2 separate regions of the Homo sapiens genome follow, and region 2 is linked to region 1. Evidence: promoter capture Hi-C in 16 types of primary human blood cells and fetal thymus (Javierre and others, 2016). All regions are on one chromosome and are shown on one strand. The core of a region is centred on a gene start or on the middle of the fragment in contact, and the rest is flanking DNA. Distances in the headings are between cores, read along the strand shown. Region 1 holds the start of DMRTB1 (DMRT like family B with proline rich C-terminal 1). Region 2 overlaps GLIS1 (GLIS family zinc finger 1).

What was found. Contacts are between HindIII fragments. The CHiCAGO score rates a contact against its expected background, and 5 or more counts as called.
Region 2: a fragment that was not itself captured here is called in contact with the fragment with the promoter of DMRTB1 in region 1 in 7 of 17 cell types (fetal thymus, endothelial precursors, M1 macrophages and 4 more); the score reaches 9.3 in fetal thymus.

The regions. Positions count from the first base shown.
Region 1 is chr1:53,457,559-53,461,170 of GRCh38, reverse strand. It overlaps DMRTB1 (DMRT like family B with proline rich C-terminal 1), which reads right to left and starts at 1,772. Exons shown (of 4, transcript NM_033067.3): 1 at 1,141-1,772. The coding sequence starts at 1,717. The HindIII fragment of the contact is 2,763 bases long and covers 454-3,216 here.
Region 2 is chr1:53,691,210-53,694,821 of GRCh38, reverse strand. All of the region lies in intron 2 of GLIS1 (GLIS family zinc finger 1), which reads left to right. Among named protein-coding and RNA genes, the nearest start is that of GLIS1, 46 kb to the left of the region's middle. RefSeq lists an enhancer at 222-848. The HindIII fragment of the contact is 2,259 bases long and covers 450-2,708 here.

The DNA.
Region 1 (3,612 bases), core at 523-3,022:
CCTCCGGGTCACAGTGAACCCGGCCATGGCTCAAGCCCTGGACACTGATTTGTGTGACTCTTTGATCAACCCTGTCCCTCCCACAAGGACAAGGTCCTTGAGGGCAAGAAATGTGACCCGCGTCCTCCATCACGAATGCCTGGCTCATGGTTCGGCTCAGCCCTGCTTGTCTGTTGAGATGGAAAAAAGAAAGGTGGCTTCTCCTAGATCTGCAGTTTCAGGCCTGTGACCCTGTCAGATGGGACGTTCCCTGGGGACCTAGATTTTCCTGGAAAGTCAGGGGGGCGGGACGAGCCTGCGGGAGCCTCCGGACCAGTGCCCTGGCACACAGAGGGCAGGAGCTTGTCCAGCGTGACCCGGGCCCCCGCCTCGGCCTGAGCCCGTCCCACCACACCACCACGGGGGAGACACCAGGAAAACGCGTCCGCACCAAACCCCGGGGCTTCTAAAGCTTCAAATGTACATGTGACTTGAAACTACTTCAATACCAAAAGCTCCAAGGCACAGGGAACAATGTAATTTATGTACAAGGTGAAGGGAGAAAAGAAAGGCAACATCTTTACTGACCAACTGTTCTCGTGTGTGGAGTAAAGAAGCAGGCTCCCCTCACCTGCACGTGGGGAAACGGAGGGAAGAGGTGCGCAGGCGCACTGGGCCAGGGCGGAGCTGAGGGGAGGAGCCTCCCGACCGCGAACCGGGAGGGAAGAGTGCGCAGGCGTCCTTGCGCTAACGTGCCGGCAGGAAAATTCTGTTATTCTGGAGGAGGAGCCTCCAGCCCAAGGAAATGGCGGGAAGAGGTGCGCAAGAGCAGTAGGACTCGGCTCCTCGAAGCCTCCCCCGGAGGAGGAAGCACTGCTAAGTCGACTGGACGCCATTTTGTTCTTGCATGCCGGAATGGCACAAACTACAGCTAAATGTTAAAAGCCCTCTGAACCGCCCATTCCTTTCTGTTTCTCGTTTCCTTTTTGCGAAAAGTTACCCAATCCAAATCCCTGTTCGAAGAAGGGTTTCTCAAAGCGGAAGGTCCGTTACCCGTGGAAAAACTTCTCTCCACCCCGAACCCCTATGCCAGCTCCCCATCCGGGCTGGCCTGGGCTGCCAGCTCCGGGAGTCGACCGCGGGACCAAGGCCACGACTTACCAAAGTCGGTGAACAGTGGGCCGGGCACGGTCCGCATCGGCCTGCGCAGGTCTAGGGGGCCAGGGTAGCCACTGCCTGCGGCCTCCGCCCCAAAAGGGGGTCCCGCAAGGCTGGGCATCGCCACGGCGGCTCGCTCGCTCGGCTCCACGTGGCTGCGGCCGCCCAGAACCGGCTGGAGGGCTCTCGGGCCGGGGTTCCGGCCCCGCGGGGGCTGCTCGAAGAAGCAAGCGGCCGCGCGGCCCTCGGGTCCCGGGTCGGCGTCTCCGGAGGGAGTCCCCGGGGACAGCGGGCGGAGGCTCGCGGCCGGGACGGGGACGGGGGCGGGGGCGGCGGCCGCAGCCCCGGAGGCCTGCTTGGGCCCCTGCGCACACAGGGCCGCCTCCTGCTCCTCCTCGGCGGCCTGCGTCTTGAGCACCTTCTGCGCGGCCATGATCTTCTGGCGCTCGGAGATCAGGTAGCACTTCTCGCAGAGGCACTGCTTCCAGCGGCATTTGCCCGCGTGTCCCTTGACGGGCACCAGGAAGCCATGGTTCCTGCATCTCGAGCACTTGGGGGTGCGCACCATTTTGTCGGCCATTGGCAGGGTCAGCCTTCGTAACACAACCACCACCTCTGGGAGCTGCAGAGCAAGTGGCGCTGGGATGAGCCGCGCCCCACAAGTCCCTCGTTCTGGGGACATTGGATACACTTGTAACAAAGCGGCTCGCAGTGTGTCCCGGGAACTGCAGCAGGAACCTTGCATTTTCCCTCCTTTTGGGGGGTGCACAGTTTGGAGAGTTTCTGTGCTTTGGGTAATTAGATGCAATGGATTGGGTTGAATAAATTCTTCATGGGATGCTATTGCATGTATGTCATTTAGCTTATCTGAAGTCTTAGGCATGTAATTTTCCAAACTCTGTTCCCGCCACCGACGGAAGGTATTTGTAACTTTATGAAAGGCGGAGTGATATTCAACGGTCCACAAATTTAAAACTCGGGAGGAATGTAGCTCTCGGTGTAGAAAAATACTGTAAGAGGCAAACTGTATTTCTTCTCCCCAAAGCTGCTCCTTCTGTGGCAGTTCACTTCTCTGCCCTGCAGAGATGCTTCCAGGATATTCCAGAATATTCTCAAGAGTTCAGTGCAGTGTGATGGTTGCTCAAGGGTATGCCCTTACAGTAATTCCCGTTTCTTGAGAGTCTTGATGTAGGAATGCATTTCTGGATGTTGATGCCTTCCAAAGTGAGCATACTTAGAATATTTTAAAGTAAAATAGACAGAATATTGTAGCACTAAGCCTGGCATAGTGTCCTGTGCCTGTAGCCCTAGCTACTCGTGAGGATCACTTGAGCCCAGTAGTTGGAGACCAACCTGAGCAACATAGCGAGACTCCTCTTTCTAAAAAATTAAATAAAAAATTCTGCAAGACCCCTCTTTCTAAAAAATTAAATTAAAAAAAATTTCTAGCACTAGCTTCAGTGATTGCTTAACCTCATCATGAACTTCGTTATCCTTGTAAAACAACCCAAATCTTGGGACATCTGAAAAGTTAGCACAAACGTCATAGTTTACCCGAGGGCATTAATTGTTTTTTTTTGTTTTTTTTTTTTTTTTTGAGACAGAGTCTTGCTTTGTCACCCAGGCTGTAGTGCAGTGGCAGGATCTTGGCTCACTGCAACCTCCGCCTCCCAGGTTCAAGCGATTCTCCTGCCTCAGCCTCCTGAGTAGCTTGGATTACAGGCGCCCGCCACCATGCCCAGCTAATTTTTGTATTTTTAGTAGAGACGGGGTTTTCGCCATGTTGGCCAGGCTGGTCTTGAACTCCCGATCTCAGGTGATCCACCGGCCTCGGCCTCCCAATGTGCTGGGATTACGGGCGTGAGCCACCGCGTCCGGCCATTAATTCATTTTTTAAAAACAAATTTGTGACACCCTGAGGCATCTCTCTCTCTCTCTCTCTCTCTCTCTCTCTCTCTCTGTCTCTCTCTCCCGCCCCTCCCCCCCACCACCCCACTGCCTCCATTTCCCTCCCCTCCCCTCTCCTCCCTTCTTTGTCCAAAAAAAGGAAAAAATGGGCCACTAACAAGCTGAAAAGCTTCTAATTAGATCAGTCGCATTTAAGGAGGTAGTTACAGTTAATATGTGGCTAAAACTTGTGCATTTTTCATTGCTCTTTCTTTGAATTTCTCTCTTTCTGTTGGTAGAATGGGAGAAGCCCACGCCTGGTGTCCACCTTGATTTTCCTGAGTCCGTGATTGTAGTTGTACCTTGCGTTTCTCACTAGCTGCCTGGGAATAGGAAATGGTTACCATTGGGGGGCTTATTAGATCTGGAAAGCGAAAAAAGGTTTTAAAGTCTTTTTCTGCTTTAAAAAAAATCATCTTAATAAGAAAGTAAAAGTAGTAAAAAGTTTCCTGTGTTACTTGGCTTGTTAGGACTTCACTGGTTGCTCTGCATCCATTTAAGGAGGACTAGGTTTGTTTCTGCTTTGCT
Region 2 (3,612 bases), core at 330-2,829, 230 kb before region 1:
CTTACCAAGTGACCCTACAGCCTGGATTTTTTGAGGCAGCGTTAATTTACTATGATAGTGAGAATTTAGCTCCTGCTAGTGTGTGTGCAGGACTGTGCTGTGTGCCCCACGTAGCCCAGTCTGTAATAACTCCTTCTACCCCAAGTCCCAGGTCCGAGCCCTTGAGCAGCCTGCCCAAGGCCACACAGCCTGTAGGAGGTGGAGCTGGGACCCCAGCGGTGTCTGCCCAGCTTGGGCTTTCTTCCTGGGTGGTGCTGCCGCCTCAGCAGGGCCCCCTCTGCATGAGCTTAATTCATGGGCTGGGCCCAGCTTGGTACCCAGAAGGTCAGGTCAGCAGGGCTTTCCTGGGCCAGCAGGGACACTGGGTGCAGCCCATTGAGAAGAGAAGGCAGAAAGGGTCCCTGGCAGGGCCAGCCGGCTCGCAGAAAGGGAGTGAGGAGGTATAAGCTTGGACTTGAGTCCACAGGGTGAGGTATGGGGAGGGGAAGAGAACAACCGCGTTCTGAGCACCTACGGTGTGCTGTGTGCTTTGCTGATGTCTTCTCTCCTTGTCACCCCTCCCCCAGCGCCCCTGCCGTTTCTCACCTAGAGGGCCCACCCCCTCCATTTGGCCAACTCCCATTGGTCTTTCAAACTCATTCAGGGCCATCCTAGACCTGCCCTGACCCCAGATTGGGCCAGAGCCCCTTCTTTGGGTCCCTGCAGTCCCTAGAGTGTCCCTCCATGCAGCACTGGGCACCTGTGTGGTGGCCGCCTGTTGCCTGTCTCCCCTACCAGGCAGTAGACTGCAGGGGCCGGGACTGTTTCCTCCTCTTCGTGAGCCCAGTGCCCACCGTCAGGCCTGGCCCAGGCAGGCGCTCAGGGAAAGCTGGTTCAGAGTGACGGTGATGACACAGCCTCCTCATGTCTGCGTCATGTTTCCTGTTTCCCAAAGCATCTTCTCATCAAGGTCACTTTGAGCGGCACAGCCATCTGGAGGGTTAGGTAAGGCAGCGATCGATGAAAAGGCACGCTTTCCAGGTGGGGGCACTGAGGCTCAGGAGGCCACCCAGTGCGGTGGTAACAGAGCCCGGCCTCGACATCCCGGGCTTCCTGCACCATCCCCTCCCCTCTTCAGTGCCGCCAGAGCGCCTGCTTTATGATGCCCACACCCTTGGCGACCCCGAGGCCGGGACTGCTTGTAATCAGATTGCCTTCCTCCCCACTGAGCTCATGCTGCTGAGGGAATGGAAATTTGGATCTGTGGGCGGGGGTGAGAGGCTGGGCTGTGGGGGCAGCTCTGGCTGGGGTGCTGTGGGACCAGGATGGGATGTGGTGGCTGGGGGAGCATGCCAGAGCCAGACTTAGCAGTTCTGGCCTCTGGCCACAGGGGCTGCTGAGAACCATCTCAAGTGGTTGGCCAGATGCCTGCCCCCGAGGGCTGGGTGTCCAGAAGGTTTGGGATGGTCAGCAGCAGGGAAGATGGATCTTCTGAGGTTAAGTTGGCCATATTGGTGGCCTCCAGAGACTGAATGCCCCCAGGGAGACCTGGGTTCAAGTCCTGCCACTGACTTGACATGGGGCCATGGCAAGTTACAGCCCTTCTCTGCGTCAGTTTCCTCATCTGTAAAGTGGGATAATAGTCTCAGAAGGGGCTGTAGGGAGGATTAAATTATGAAACAGTGCGTGTAACATATGGAGCCACGATGATTTCCTTGTCTGCAGAGTGGAATGTACTTTGCCCTGCTTCTCTGTCTGGGTTGATACGAGGTCTCGACGAAGCACCCTCACACTGTGAAGTGCTGTGCACCTGTGAGGGACATACCTTCCTTCAGAAAAGATGGACATGGATGTAGAGGGATAGAAAAGGGCTCTGGAGGTGCTTCCTGGGATGGGATGGGCCCCTGGGAGTCCATTGACAGAGAGGCCAGTCCAGCCAGTGAAGATTGAGTGGGTTTCTCAAAGACTTTGGGGTTTGCTTAGGGTGGCGGTGCCTACCATCCAGAGAACTGGGCCTGCAGGGACCTTGGGCAAGCGTGGGGTTCCAGCCCAGTGGGGAGAAAGCAGGCCCGAGCTAGGATGGCCTGGGTTTCCCCAACTTCCCTTCTTCACAGCCAACTTCTAGCCAAGCCCTCCAAAAACTCACCCCCACCTGGGTCAGGGTCCCCCACTTCCACTCAGGCTAGAGCCCACACCCTCAGTATCCCTCCCCCAGCTACACCCACAGTGGCTGAGAAATGGGGCTGCTGGAAGCTCCATTTCTCAGCACAACCCCAAACTCTAAATCAGGGACAATAGTGGCACCCACCAGGCAAGGCTGGGTGAAGGTTACTGTAACCCTGTAGGGTAACACATTAATGTGTGTAAAGCACACAGTAAGTGCTCAATAATTGCTAGCTATGTTTATTGTTATCGTTACGTCCTTCAGGTTATTACCACATTCTTTCCATGCACATCTCAAGTACATTGGATACCATTGCTATTTTATGGTTGTGTTGAGTCCTTTTACTCTTCAGGCAGTGGGGAGCCATGGAGGGATTTTGAGCAAGGATATGACATAGGGTTGAGCTCCAGGATGCTGAATCTGGCAGTGAGTTTAAGCCTCATTACGTGGTGTGCTTCGTTCAAAGGGGCTTTATTGTTCTATAGTAGTTTTAGAAATAGCTTTTCAAACCCTTCCCTCTTTAGGTGGGGAAAAAGAGAGGTTGGATGAGAAGGAAAAGAAAGCTTGTGTTAGGAAAAAGGGAGGCAGTTTGAGGGGTCAGGTATTTAATAGAGATAGGGAGAACTGCAGAGTGGGCTGCAGGCTGGGTGTGAAATTGCCAGACACTGTCTCCAGGTTAGATTATAGGTGTGGAACTCCCCGCTCCTCCACGACTCCTGTCCATATGGGCCTTGCTGCTGCCATGGTGGGACTAGAGTAATGGTAATATACATCTCTCTATGCTTTCAGAGACACAGTCACTGGGGCGGAGTTGGTTTAACTGTGGAACCTGGTAATGCTGGGTGGGTGTGACCCTGGGTTGGAGTGGGGGTAGGAGGGAGGTCAGGATTGGCCATGAAAGGAATATAGAGGCCATTTAGAGAAACTGCAAATTCAGTAAGGTGGAGCTGTGCAGAAATGAAGGACCCTTTATTAGCAAATCCGAAGCTCGGCCAGTGTATGATTTGATGCTGGCTGAGTGGCTGCAGGGAGTGGCTGGTGGAAAAGGTGTGGAAGCTCCAGGCGAGGCGGTTGTTGGGAGAGGGAGAGGGAATGGAGGAGGAGCAGTGGTGGAGGAGCTCATGGACGTGGGAGAGCATGGAGCAGCAGGGGGCTCAGCTCCTCCCAGTCCGTGTGAATCTGGGATCCTGGGCCCGGGGTCCTCATCATCTCCAGTGATTCTGCTCATGGAGTCCAGAGTGGGCCCAGGATTCTGAGGGCAACAGGCAAAAGGCCAGACTTTGAGGAACATGGATTTAGGTTTATGTGTGTCTCATGTGGTGGTGGGAGGGGGGATGATGAGATGAGCAGGGCTGGGTCAGATGGGGATCAGTGGGCAGCAGGTGGTGAGAGAGGCTGGGCCTGGGCACTGAAGCTCCCACTGTGGGTACAGCTGGAGGGACACAGCGGGAGTGCGCCCTAGCCTGAAT